2 separate regions of the Homo sapiens genome follow, and region 2 is linked to region 1. The links are contacts of gene promoters, found by promoter capture Hi-C in blood cells and fetal thymus (Javierre and others, 2016). All regions are on one chromosome and are shown on one strand. The core of a region is centred on a gene start or on the middle of the fragment in contact, and the rest is flanking DNA. Distances in the headings are between cores, read along the strand shown.

Region 1 (7,307 bases), core at 3,745-6,244:
CCCCCCTTTTCCTCTTCTTGCCTCTCTGCATTTCTCAGTCAGTATTACAAGAGCAGCTTGCTAACTGGAAGAGTGGCCACTGAAAAAAATGGAGACAAGAGTTTAACTTGGGGCTGGTGTTCCTGGAGCCAAAGTCATCATCCGCAGATTGGTAACCGCGGATACAAGGCCTCTTAGAGGCCACTAGTGGCCACTGGGTGAACTGCATGAAGATGGCATTTTAAAAATGAGTGTTCTTTCCAAGGTTTAGTCGCTTAGCAAATTTCGTCCCTTAGTGACTTGGAGAAAACTTGATATATAGTGCCAGAAAACCTGCTTTTAGAACAATTAAATATAAATCTGAAATGCAAAAGGTAACCAGGAGATAGACCTCCTTGTTCAGATGGTTTGTGTGCTGCTATGTGTGTGTGCATATATATATATATATATATATATATATATATATATATATATATATATATATATATATATATATAGTTTTTTTCCTGTCCTTCTCATCTGGGACTTGCTGTCATGATTCTGGGCTTCAGAAACCGTATCCCCAGAGCATGTAACACTTATCTTGTCTGTGAAAAATATTAAATGAATGCATATGTATGAAATCTGTAGCTTGTTATTAATAATAAATTATAATGCCACTAGAGCTATGAGTCATTCAATTCACAAGTGATTGACTGTTCGTTCATTCATTCTACAGTCACTGGACATTCATATTCCTATGCCAGTGCCTCTAATGGATATCCCAGAATGTCACTTGGGTTGTGGACACATATGTCTGCCAAGTAAATAATGACTGATTTTTTCAGAGTAATTCAGTTATGCTGCTCCCCACCTGTGCCTCCAGAAATCAACAAAAGCAGTAATCCCAGATTTTATTTTTCTTAATTGGCCTACCTGCACATGTTCTCTGACAGTTTTAATGTCTTACTAGCAGCATTTTGTTCAGATGTCAGATTTATGGGGGCTACAGGTCGTACATATTCCTCATAGGAACAAGTATTCCCTGGAGTGCTTTCCTGACCTTGCTGGGATATGATAAGTTGCACATTCCCAGTCAATGAACACTTATTGGTCACGTGCTGTGGGTCAGACTTGATCACAGACACTGCTCACTAGATGCTCACGACAATCTGTGAAGTAGGCATTGCTTCCATTTTGCTGATGGAGAAACTGAGGCTTGGGCACCAATATGACTTTCCCAGAGTGAGCAAGAAGTGGCAGATGTGGAACAGGAAGCCAGGTCTTCTGCCTCTGCTCTCTGCTTCCCTGCTTCCCTGCACTGCCTTTGTAGAGGTTCCCGTTTTTCCCAATCCTGGCAAGGGTGGCTGTGTCCTGACTCCTCGTGGCAAGGACGGTTGTGTCATTACTCCTCCTGTTCTTACTGCCCACTTCTTCCAGTGCCTACACCCCCTTTCCGGGGGCCCAGAGTCTTTTGGGCCACAGGGGAATTTTGCTAGAAGATGGAATACACAAAGGCAACCTGCTTAATAATTTGATATCTGTAGGCTTTTGCATTTTATTTGCATTCTTAAAGAAAAAGACTCGTAGACTGGGTAAGCAGTGAATATCAACTGCTTACCTTCAGCCTCTATTTCCTAACATATAACATGGGGATGAGGATTCATTGATTAGCAAGTCCTCTTAAACTCAGTTCTGTGGCTGTCAAGGTGGGGTTTTAGAGAGTGGCATCCAGCTGGGAGACAGATTTCAGAACTACAAGTTCGTCTTAGCCCCTCAAACTCTACCACCTGACTGAAGATGCCCTTCTGTTCTGTGAACTTCTTTTCCCAAACTTGGATGGTACTGGATACCTCCCTGATTTCACTATTTGATATCAAATCATCTAGTGTGACAGTAACACAATGACACCAGTCCACAACACCTGGGCAAGTGTCTGGCTTGCTGGATAAACTGCACTTCCCCTTTCCCTTTGCTATATGGAGAGCTGCATCAATCTGGGCTTTCAGGCATTGGTCTCCTTCTAATGAGGGGAATCGACCACACAGCTCCAGCATGACCATGCTCACCTATCCCAGCAAATAGGTGTTTATCCCCAGTGAAACCCAGCACAGAACACCCTTAGGAGTAAAATTAGATTTTGGTGCATGAATGTTATTGACAAAAAAGACTCCCTGCTCAATGCCACTCGGGGACATGAGTCTGAATGTCCCTGCCATGGCCCAGGGGAATGATGTCTGTATCACCAAACCAGTGCTGGCACCTGGACCTTGTCACCACTGACAGGGCTGAGAGGAGGTCAGCTGCCGGCTGCTGTACCCGGAACAGGTTTCTAGGGATCAGGCAGAGGCAAGAGGCTGGGGAAGCAGCTTGCCTTGCCAGCTCACCAGGCTGCTCTGGAGAGAAATAGAGGGCTTCTATCTCTATTACTGTCAGAGTCTGGCACTTCTCCCCGGCTCTGAAATTCACAGCAATGGATGGAGGAGGGAGGAGGGAGAAGGAAGGAGGTGCAAGCCAGACAATCAAAACAGCCACAATATTTTGGAAGTGGAATATTCCAGCTAGAGAAAATTCTCTAAAGCATTGAGCAGTAGGGCTGGAAGAGGCCCTAGCTAATCCAGCACTCTGGTTTTGTAGAGGAAATAGTTGAGAGGCAGAAAGACAAAGCAACTTCTCTGAGGTTACAAGGTCAGTAAGGGGCAGAACTGGGACAAGGCTCTGGGTCTTCGGTGCTTTCACCACTTAAAAGAAAGCTTTTGCTTTCTTCCTTTATAAAACCAGAGATTGGCAGGGGGCTTCCTTTTGTGGGAACCCCAGTGGAGACAGAGGATGTTTACCTGCAGGGAAGAGGGGCCAGGGCCCGGCTGTGCCTGGACCCAGAGTGGTGGGGAAGGGGGGTATGCTCATACCTTGCAGGTTGACGCCCCGGGGCACCACGCCCTGAAGCTCCACTGTGGGCAGGTCATCTTCCGCTGCATTAGAGTTATTGGGTGGAACTGCTCTTCTGCCTCCAAAGGCGGTCCTGGAAGTTTCTGACATTTTTGACTTTACAAGGTCCTTCAGAAAAAAAAAAAAAAGAAGACAACAGAAAAGGCATGTAAAGTGAGTAACATTTGAGACAAGGATTCCAAAATAGAGAAACAGATATATCTGTGTGTGATAGCACTTGAGCAACACATTTTGCCGTTTGCATAAATAAAAACTGAGAAGTGGCAGCAAGGATTAGTCTAATGATGGAATACAGTTCCCCAAGGATCTTGGGGAGATTTTTGTATGTGTCAAAACATATGGAAAGCAGAAGAAAAGGGGCTTATTCAAAGAAATTTAAAAATTAAAAGATTTTTGGAGACCCAGATTCCCCCACCCTCCATAATCCTACAGCAGCATCTTCGCAAGAAATGTTTCCTGTTATATGCATGTGCTGTATCTATGTTCATTTCATACAGATTTATGAGATTATAAGTCACTTTTAAGAATAAACGCACACAACCATGTCCAGACAAATGTTGTCTTCTAAAGCGTTTACATTTGCAATTTAATTCAACCAATATTTATTGAGGGCCTATGACATGCCAGGCTGTGATCTAGGTACATGGGATACATCAGAGAACAAAACAGAATGTTTGCTCTGATAGATTATAGTCTGATAGGGTTAGGGTGGAGCCCAAGAAGAGCCATAAGTAAATCCACTTAGGGGTGAGGAGGTAGGAACTGCTTTGGAAATTGAGCCACATGGAGGAGGATAAGGAGGTGGAGAGGTTGGGCATGCAATTTTCAATAGGGCTATCAATAGGCTTAAGAAGTCAGGGTTGCCAACATTTCCCATTCCCCAAGCCTGCTTCCCCTTCCCTTGGAGCTTGTGCAGGCACTGAGCCAGTTTAAACAACACACACCTGACGGTCAGTGCCCAGTAAGTACTTGTTGACCAAATGACCAAATGAAGGGGGACTTTGTTTCTGGGCCCAGTGAAGGTTCCCCCTTGATCCCCTGGATTACCCAGTCATGACTCCTGGAGACTTGGCTATTTTCAAAAACCAGGCACACCCCCAAGAGGTGAAGAGTCCCCATTATAGAGGCCACCAGAGTAGAGAGATGGTTCCAGAGACATGTGGAGCACTAACAACATGCTGGAGAAAAGACAACCACGCCTAAGGTGTCTGGTCTGAGAAGGAGACAGGAGTGTTTGGATGCATAAGGTGTGAATGGGTATCCATAAGTATAGATAAATATATTTACAGTCATTGGTGAGCTGACGGGGGAAGGGAGGGAGAAGAGCGAAAAAGGGTTAATGATAGGGAGAAGGCTGCGAGAGCCATCCTCTAGTGAGAAATACCGAAGGTAGGCTGCGGCATTGCCAGGGGTGCAGAACAGTGTGGCGCGCTGTCGGGAGACACAGTGCTAAGGGGGAGAAGGGGGGAGCCCCAGGTGCACGCCTGGCTGGGTGAGTGCGGCGGGCAGGAGCCCTCGCTTCTGGGCGGGTCTAAGGAGGAGAAGTGGCTCGAGTTCAGCTCCAAATTGGGACGGAGGCAGGCGATGCGCAGGAGTGGGGAGGCGCGCAGGAGTGGGGAGCCAAGCCGGCGGGGTTCCAGTCTAGCAGGCTGTTCTCACTTGGCCCCACTCCCTCCACCTTTTGTGTTCCAGCTCCATAATCTGCTCCCTGAGGAAAGGGGGCTCGTCCCTTGGGGAAGCACCTCCAACTCCCCCATCCCCATTTGGTGGCATTCTAAGCAAGCAACGGCTTCGGGAGAGCTGCCTCGAGAGCCTGAGAGAAGTCCCGCTTAGAAGCTGGGCTGGGCAGGTGCGGAGTTGGGGGCGGGAAGCCAGGATTGGGCAAGTGGAGCTGCCTGTGACCGGCGCCACAGGGCCCAGAGCAAGCCGCTTGCTGGTTCAACCAGGAAACCGAGGTGCAGAAGGTGGACGCAGCGGGCCCTGGCTCATAGGGTGCAGGGTCGGTGGCTTACCTGCAGGCGCTCCCCTCCAGAGGTGCCCTCGCGTGGGCTTGCTCTGTGCGCCTCGGGGACTTCCTCAAACGGACTCGGGAAAGACAAGACAGTTGGCTCTTAAATAACTTCCTAAGAGGAGCCCTCACCCTCCTCCCCTGTCCCACAGGGTTTTCTCCTCCCCCTTCTCCACAGCTGGAGCCAGTAGGGGAGCTCAGAGGATTTTCTATTTACTTCATCTGGCCTGTTATCCCGGCAGGTGCGCCCTTCTCTCCCACTTGCCCCTCTGACTCCCAATTTCCCATTCCCACTTCTCCTCCCCATCCCCATCCCTAGATCTGCCCTCCCCACCGCAACCAGTTGCTGGGAGTACCAGGCAAGGGGCCCTGCAGTGCCAGGAAGTCCCCACCCGTCCCCTTTGGTCAGAGGGTCTGGGAGGGTTTCCTTTACAAAGGAATGCTTTTGCCTGGCAGGTCAGCTGCTACTGTGGCTTGGCAGGAGGGGGGTCTGCCCTCCCACAGACAGGTCACACAGACAGTTGTGACCATGCATGCAGTGAGAGCAACGTGTCCCTCCTGTGCAAATAAGGCATGGTCTGCATTCCTGAATCATCCCAGAGCCACAGCCACCGCCTAACCACAAGACTTCCTGCAGGAATGGGATGCCTAGCCCCAAGGAAGATGAGTAAACATCTTTAATAATGCCATGCAGATTAGAAAATAACACTTGGTTTTCTCTGAAAATCATTTTAGTGCATGTTCAAAAATTAGAAAATTTTCCCCCTAAAATTTTAATTTTTTTCTTTTACTCTTTCTTTCTTTCTTTCTTTCATCTTTCTATCTTTCAGATGAAGTCTTGCTCTGTTGCAAAGGCTGGAGTGCAACCTCCACCTCCCGGGTTCAAGTGATTCTTCTGCCTCAGCCTCCCAAGTAGCTGGAACTACAGGTGCATGCCACCATGCCCGCCTAATTTTTGTATTTTTAGTAGAGATGGGGCTTTACCATGTTGGCCAGGCTGGTCTCGAACTTCTGACCTCAGGTGATCCACCCTCCTTGGCTTCCCAAAGTGTTGGGATTACAGGCGTGAGCCACCGCACCCAGTCAAACATGGCTATTTCTAACCTTCTTTACTGTCTTCAAATTTCTGACCCTGCCACTCAATCTCCCAATGTTATAAAGAAGAAAAAAAAAGATGCCATTGGTTAGAAATTCTCTCAATTTTCTGCTACCAATCTATGAACCTGCCTGCAACCTTATCTATCTTTTCCTCTTTCTTCTTGTTACTGAAGTTGGAAAGGTCCCTCCTCCCTCTGCATCTCCAAACCAGGCTTCTGCGTTGCCTTGTTCTCCGGGGCTTTGCTGTGACTCTTACGTACTCTTCCTCTTGCAGCTTCAAGCTCCTGCTTGCTAATAGTGGGTCTTCTCAGCATTCATGCAATTTCAGGTCTCTTCAGTATTTTTTTAAAAACCTCCCCCAACCTATGTCCCCACTCCTGCTGTTACTCCTCCTCTCCTCCCCTTCATCACTAAGTATCTGCCATCTGGCTTCCGCCTCATCATTCTACTGAAAGTGGAGGTCACGGTCTCCAAGGCCTGTGCTCAGGCCAAAAGACAGGATTCAGTTCTTATTTACCTGACCTTTTGGAAGCATTGAACTCTGTCTTTGAAGGTATTTTTCCTAGGCCTCCTTGACATTGAACACTCTGTGGTTTCCTCCAGTGCAGCGCAATATTCCTTGATTGTCTGAGGAACTCCCATAGTTTTCAAATTCCATCTATATCCTGACACCTCCCAAATCTGGGTCTTTAGCCAAGATCTTTTCCAGAATTGCAGATTCCCGTATCTAAGTGCCTACTGGCTATCCTCATTTGTCACATCCCAGTGACAACACACGCTCATCATGTCTAACATGAGATGTATCACTTTCCTGGAAAACCTGGTGCATCTCAGGAGTTCCCTACCTCAATGAATACCATCACTTTGCACGCAGGTGGTACACCAGACACATGGGCATCATTCTTGAGGCTTCCTTGTTTCTCTCCCTCAATCATCAAATCCGATCCTTGAGCAAATATTTTCTATCCTACCTCTTAAACAGCCCTTGAATCTACCCGTGTATGTACCCCTTTCCAGTCCATTCTCTACAGTGCAGTCAGAATGAGCATTTCAGGGCTAAAATCCGAAATCAAATTATTTGCACAAAGCCCTTATATGGCTACTTCTCTTTGCTTTTTGGATAAATTGCAAGCTGAAACTGACAAGGCCTATACAAGCTGGACCCTGCCTCTAGCACTGCTCTTTCCCTCAGCATCCATACAATTTGAGGTCTCCAGTATTTTTAAAAAACCTTCCCCCAACACCAATCTACCCTCCCTGCCTTCCACTGTTGTTTCTCCTCTCCTCCTCTTCA
Region 2 (6,718 bases), core at 4,064-6,563, 840 kb before region 1:
ATAGATGTATATTAATGACGACGCATGACTAATAGGATTGGGGCTGGGGGCTGGTGTAGTGGTGCTTCTGGAGCCTGTGGGCCGCATGTCACTGGGGTTTAGCAGGCACGCTGGGATTTGTCTGCAGCATATGCGCTGCTGTTAATGATTGAAAAATTACCACAACAATTAGTCATGGATCGCTGAAGGCAGGGCCCCCAAATGTGATGGACAATGTGATTAAATCCATGTATGTGACAATTAACTCTCCTGCAGGTTTATCCACCAAGGAGGGTGCCCTAGGGGTGAGAGCAAAGGGGAATGAGAAGGAGGAAAAATGGGAAAACAAAAAGGAGCAGGAGAGAATAATGCTGCAGAATGGATCAGATACAGCTGGCACTATTGGTTTTAATCTGATCCTGAATTAATCACGGTTTGATTAATCCTGGTTTTATTGCACCTTTCTGTTGCCCATTTATTTATATCTTCCTTAATTTTATAGAAGCATGACTGATTAAATTCTGCCCATTCTGTGTTTTTTAAATTTTAAAATCAGGTCTCTCCATTTAATGTGATGTCCTAGGTGGTCCAAGGTGCAATTATCTCGTAAGAGCTTAGCAGGCACCAGACATAGCATGTCATGAATCCCCTTATGTATCACAGCTGAGTAACCCAGAATAAATATTTGTTTGCTCAATATTCTGCCTAAGTAAAAAGAAGCCTTGTGATGTCAGTCTGCTTGTTTATTTGGGTGGAAGAAATAAGAATACACACCCCCGCAACTTTGTTAAATACAGAGAGCACACATTCAGTATATGTCACACACAAAATTTTGTGCATAAAGAAAAAGTGTGTTAATATTTGGATGAAGTATCTGCAAATATATATTCATGGCCTAAAAGGGTAATGTTTGCAGTCCATAGATATGTTCATACGTGGAATTATTTTTAACCAGTTTGTATTGTTCTTGTTTTGTTCTCGTTTAGATGTTACTTTTGGTGTTATCTATATTTGCATACCAAACACTACATTTAAATAATGCCAAGGAGGTTGTGACACGAATCAGCACAAGCAAAACCTCATGCTTTGTAACTCACGCATGTTGGATACACTGTGTGCATTAAGAATACCCTGCTCCTGGCCAGGCGCGGTGGCTCATGCCTGTAATCCCAGCACTTTGGGAGGCCGAGGTGGGTGGATCACGAGGTCAGGAGATTGAGACCATCCTGGCTAACACAGCGAAACCCCGTCTCTACTAAAAATACAAAAAAATTAGCCGGGAATGGTGGCGTGTGCCTGTAGTCCCCGCTACTTGGGAGGCTGAGGCAGGAGAATGGTGTGAACCCGGGAGATGGAGCTTGCAGTGAGCTGAGATTGTGCCACTGCACTCCAGCCTGGGCGACAGAGCGAGACTCTGTCTCAAAAAACAAAAAAAAAAACAAAAAAAAAAAACAAAAGAATACCCTGCTCCTGATTCAGGAGAGGGCATCTAAAGCTTTAGAAAACATTGAATTATATTTACATACATTGTTTTTCTTCTTACAGCATTCCTGAGGGTTATTCCATTGTTCTTGTTTAGGGTGAATTTGGTAGAAGACTCAGTTTTTTATTTGCAGGCTAAATTGGATTATCTTTGTTACTTGCATTTTTACCTGATCTACCCAGGCATATAAGGATAGATTTGTTTGTGATGTAGGCAGCGGTGTCTTTCAATATAGTAGAAAAAGAAAATAATCAGCATAAGCAAAGATCTCAGTGCACAGGCCACACAGAATGGACGCCGCCCTGCTGGATACCTTTACACCCTTGCATCCCTAGCTGCTGATATCACTGTGTTTTTAGAACACCACTCCAGAAACCCAGTCTATCCATGAATGATTTAGGAACCTCAGGATCCCTCCTGTTACCAAATTTGTGCTCTCCATGTAGCCTCCCAATAACCAGCCCTTCAGTTCTGTGAAGGCAGGAAAACACATCATTCATGAATGTCCTTCATACCCATCAAACTAAAGGACTGCATACTTCTCGAGCCATCATCACATTTCCGTTATCTCCAATGGCACATGCCGCTGTCTACATGTATTAATTTCTGCTGGGGCTTCAGTAACCAGGGCCAGCCAGCACGGTTTGTTCATTTGTTTGTTCATTAATGCATTATTTCATTTATTTATTATTGACATATGTTGGGCAGTGTACCGGGTACTTGAAGTGGAGATGAAGGTGGGACACAGGGAGACTCACAGTCCCAAATTTTATGCTGAAGGTGTGTTGTAGAGATAAGATATACAGTCATGCATCACTTAACAACAGGGATGCATTCTGAGAAACATGTTGTTAGGCAATTTTGTCGTTGTGTGAACATCATAGAGTGTATTTACACAAACCTAGATTGTGTAGCCTACTACACACCTAGGCTGTATGGTATGGTCTGTTGCTCCTAGGCTACAAACATGTACAGCACTTTACTGAATACCGTAGGCAATTGTAATGTGACGGTACATTTTTGTATATCTGAGCATATCTAAACATAGAAAAGGTACAATAAAAATACAGTACTGTTTTTTTTTTTTTTTTTGAGACAGTCTCACTCTGTCGCCCCGGCTGGAGTGCAGTGGCATGATCTCTGTTCACTGCAACCTCTTCCTCCTGGATTAAAGCAGTTCTCTACCTCAGCCTCCTGGGTAGCTGGGATTACAGGCACCCGCCACCACGCCCAGCTAATTTTTGTATTTTTAGTAGAGATGGGATTTCACCATGCTGGCCAGGCTGGTCTTGAACTCCTGACCTCGTGATCCACCCACCTCGGCCTCCCAAAGTACTGGGATTACAGGCATGAGCCACCACGCCGGTGCCCAGCCCAGTACTGTCATCTTACAGGACCACTGTCATATATAAGTAGTCTGCCATTTACCAAAACATTGTTACTTGGTGAACGACAGTGTACAGGAAGAACCATATACAAGGTGGAAATTGACAAGTACCACAAGAGGAAAACTAAATGAAAGGATATGATTGTTTGCAGATAGGAGAAATGACTTCTCCGTGGGTACTGGGGAAGGTTTTGTGGCATCTGACTTAGTCTTTGAAGAGGTTCCCAATTCACTCATAGCCAATGGTTGAAAGACTAGATTTCTTGGACAGTTCTCAAAAAGAGTTGGATATGCAGGCTTGAAGAGAAGTATATTTTAGGCACGTGCAAGAATGTGGGCGTAGTACTACTTTGGACATAACAAAGAAACAACTTGATTTGAATGTATGATGTAGAAAGAGCCTTTTGGAGCCAGATTACGGAGGACCTTAAATGCTCAGCCAAGGAGTTTAGACTTCCTTTTATAGTCAGTGAGTTGAGGGATAATAAAAGAGGACAGATGAGAAGACGTTGCATGAAGCATGTGCGTTTCAGACTAGGACTCTCCCCTGACCACAGTCCTCCAAAAACTTCCCATGCAGCTTCAGGTAGAATCTCGGCTCTAGCTCATGGCCTTCAAGGCTCTGCATCATGGGCACCTGCCTCCTATTTGGACATCATAGACCCCTCTTTACTTCCCTCACTCCTGTAGTCACACTGTTTACTGTTTCCAGCTGAGTCTCTGCTCTTACTGGTCTCTGTAGCTGAAATACTCCTACCCCAGGGCTTTGCATGGATGCCGCCTTCTCATTACTCAGGTGCAGCTCAGAGAGTCCCTCTTCCACTCTTTGCCTGTCTCCCAACCTCCAATTCCCCTCTCTGTGTCCCAGTCTCAAGTGGCTTGCTGTCATGGATGCCGGTCGTTGCTCCCCTGATGTTGTTTTCTCCCATGATTTTGCTCCATTAGCCATTCTGTAACTCAGGGAAGGTGTGCCTATCCGTTGGCCAGGGGCTAACCTGATCATAGTAATTCTCTTATTATCAGTGATTGGTTCATTCATGGCATGTGACCCAGTGAGGGACCAATGAGACATGATGGGGGAAAAGTGTCTTCCCTTCTGAGAAAATGTCACTAAAGAGATGTTGCCTCTTCCTTCCCTCCAAGTTGAAGATCAGGAGGTGAGGTCTGGGTCTGCTGAGTAAGGACAGTTGACACTCAGAAGAAGGCAGCCCCCGGCGAACGGGAGAGAACCAGGATATGGATGGAACATGCCCACACCTAGACTTCTTGTTTTGTGAGATGTTATCTCCTTCTCAAGTCCCTTTGAGTCGTGTTTTCTATTACCTGAGTGGGAAGCATACTAATTGATGTTTTCTTTTATATCACTCTGCTTTATTTTCTTCATGGCATTTGTCAGTTGGTGAATTATCCTGTTTATTTATTCTCATGTTTATTGCCTGTCTTCCTTACTATCAGTGAAGCTTCATTTGGACAGGAACTTACCTGTCTTGTTAACTGAATTCACAACTCCTAGAACTGTGTGAAGAGTATCGGTAGGTGACCAATAAATAGTTATTGGATGAATGAATGAATGAATGAATGGAGTGAGGGAGGGATGAACAAATGAAAGAATGAAGTGAGGGAGGGAGATTAATGTTGCCCTTGTATATTTTATAAAATATCATGGGGAGGGGTTGGAGAGGGCTTATGGAAGGCCGTTGCCATGCCGAGGAGTTCACAGCTAGGTATTGAGAGCCTGCCCCTTGGTTGTTGCAGTGCAGTGGGGAAGGGCCAGACAAAAGGGATGTGACAAACCTAACAGGACTTGGAACTGCGGCCAGAGTGGAAATGGGGAGAGGTGGGCTTAACTCCTGAGGCTGCACCAGGGGGTTATTGGGAGGAATAGGATGTAGGAGGAATAGCAGTTGCAATACTGGAAAACAAGGAAGTGTATTTTGGAAGTGTAGGATATTAAGTGCCAGTTAGGCATCAGTGTGGAGCTCTAGCTGGTAGTTGAGAATGTAGAAATGAAGACAGACTACTTTTATAATCAGAAGAAAATATCCCTCTTTCTTTATAAAGATAATCAGGCCTGGCAATTGGTACTTCTCTTTCCTAGTTATTATGCCTGACTCAAAAGCAGACTCCATGTCCAATTCAATTTATGTGGCCAGAGCCCCTGTTTTATGTGCCTATCATAATAATTTGTGTATAATTCCTTTATTAGAACAAAACCAAAACCAAGTAAAGACCTTGACTGTCCTTGGGTCTAACAGGGCTAAACAGAGCTAGTTCTAAGAATACTTAGATGGTCAGAGATTAGCCAGGAACTAGTTTCTGAGCAGTGTCTCAGCTCACAACAGACCTCCTTCAGGTATTCCCTATCTCATTACCCTAGCTTATTGTCTTCCTGCCGACACTTCCTGCTTTCCTGAAATACCACTTTTATTTGTTTGACCCATGAGAACAGGGTTGATTAATGCCAATTGTGACTATTATAAGGCCTAGTTGACTTGAGTTAGAGAATGCTACAATGTTTTCACTTGTCTTGTCTCACTGCGGCATCTCCAGGACATATAACATAGTGATTAGGAACACTGGCTCTGAAGTCAGACTGCCTGTGTTTGTATCCAGTCTTACTAGCTGGGTGACCTTGGGCAAATTACTTAATGTCTCTGGGCCTCAGTTTACAAATTATTGTAAATTAATTAATTTTGTGTGTGTAATTAACTGATATCTTTTGAGGAGTAAGCAAATAAATCCATATCAAATACTTAGGCAAGGCTGGGTGTGGTGGCTCATGCCTGTAGCCCCAGCAGTTTGGGAGGCCAAGATGGGAGGATGGCTTGAGACCAGGAGGTGAAGACCAGCCTGGGCAAGATAGTGAGACCTCATCTCTACAAAAAATAAAAAAAATGAGCTGGGCGTGGTGGTGTGTACCTGTAGTCCCAGCTACTTGTGAGGCTGAGGTGGGAGGATCACTTGAGCCCAGGAGGTCGAGGCTGCAGTGAGCCATGATTGCACCACTGAACTCCAGCCTGGGTGAAAGAGCGAGACCCTGTCTCAGAAAACAAACAAACAAACAAAAAACAAACCAGTAACAATGACCCGCCCCCACCAACACACATACAATAAAACACTTAGTGCTTGGCACATATTAAACGTGATGTCAGTATTAACCTGGCACACGAAGACACTCAGTCAATATGTGTGGAATCCAACTGAAAGAGCGCAGATTGATGTGGCTGTAACAGGGGCTCCAGATAATTTCATTAGCCTAACCTGTGACCAGTTACTATTTAACCTGGCTGTCTATTGGTAGCTTTTTCCAATTCTAGATAAAATCCTAGTATGGTACAGACAGATAGGTGGTGATCATATATCTTTCACTTGTATGATGCTTTTACAGATTATTTTCTTACTATCTGATCTCATCCTGACAGCTAATCTTGGGAATAGACAGGAATATCATTTCCGTTTTATGAAACAGGAAGCTTAGGCACAGAGAGGTTAAGTGTCCTTAATAACTCATGGCAGAAGCATGAGTAGAGCATGAGCCTCCTGTTTCCCAGACCCTGGCTGGAGCTCCCCATCTGTTCATCCCAGTCTATGCTACCAATGAACATAGAATACATGTCCAGATGCCCAGGCAAGATAAGCGTTCAAACCACCATGATTCTCTCACATCGACTGAGTGCCCCTGTCTTGCAAGTGCGGAACAACCAGCACCACCATTAAAATGGTGGTTCGTCCAGGGTGCTTCCCTGGCTTCCCCCAAATTAGTGCTCTTCGGGCTGTGTATACCTAGTCTGAGCTGCCATGAGTGGCCAGATGGTTGTGGTTTGTTCATTCCCTCTTGGTGGCCACAAAGCAGGGCTTCCCAGGATTGC

What was found. The method cuts DNA at HindIII sites, captures the fragments that hold promoters and counts their contacts. A CHiCAGO score of 5 or more calls a contact.
Region 2: a fragment that was not itself captured here is called in contact with the fragment with the promoter of F13A1 in region 1 in 1 of 17 cell types (naive CD8 T cells); the score reaches 5.8 in naive CD8 T cells.

The regions. Positions count from the first base shown.
Region 1 is chr6:6,315,668-6,322,974 of GRCh38, forward strand. It overlaps F13A1 (coagulation factor XIII A chain), which reads right to left and starts at 4,995. Exons shown (of 15, transcript NM_000129.4): 1 at 4,920-4,995; 2 at 2,868-3,015. The coding sequence starts at 2,997. All of the region lies in intron 1 of LOC124901253 (a long non-coding RNA gene), which reads left to right. The HindIII fragment of the contact is 4,604 bases long and covers 2,710-7,307 here.
Region 2 is chr6:5,472,127-5,478,844 of GRCh38, forward strand. The region is part of intron 4 of FARS2 (phenylalanyl-tRNA synthetase 2, mitochondrial); the gene reads left to right. Among named protein-coding and RNA genes, the nearest start is that of FARS2-AS1, 17 kb to the left of the region's middle. The HindIII fragment of the contact is 2,013 bases long and covers 4,308-6,320 here.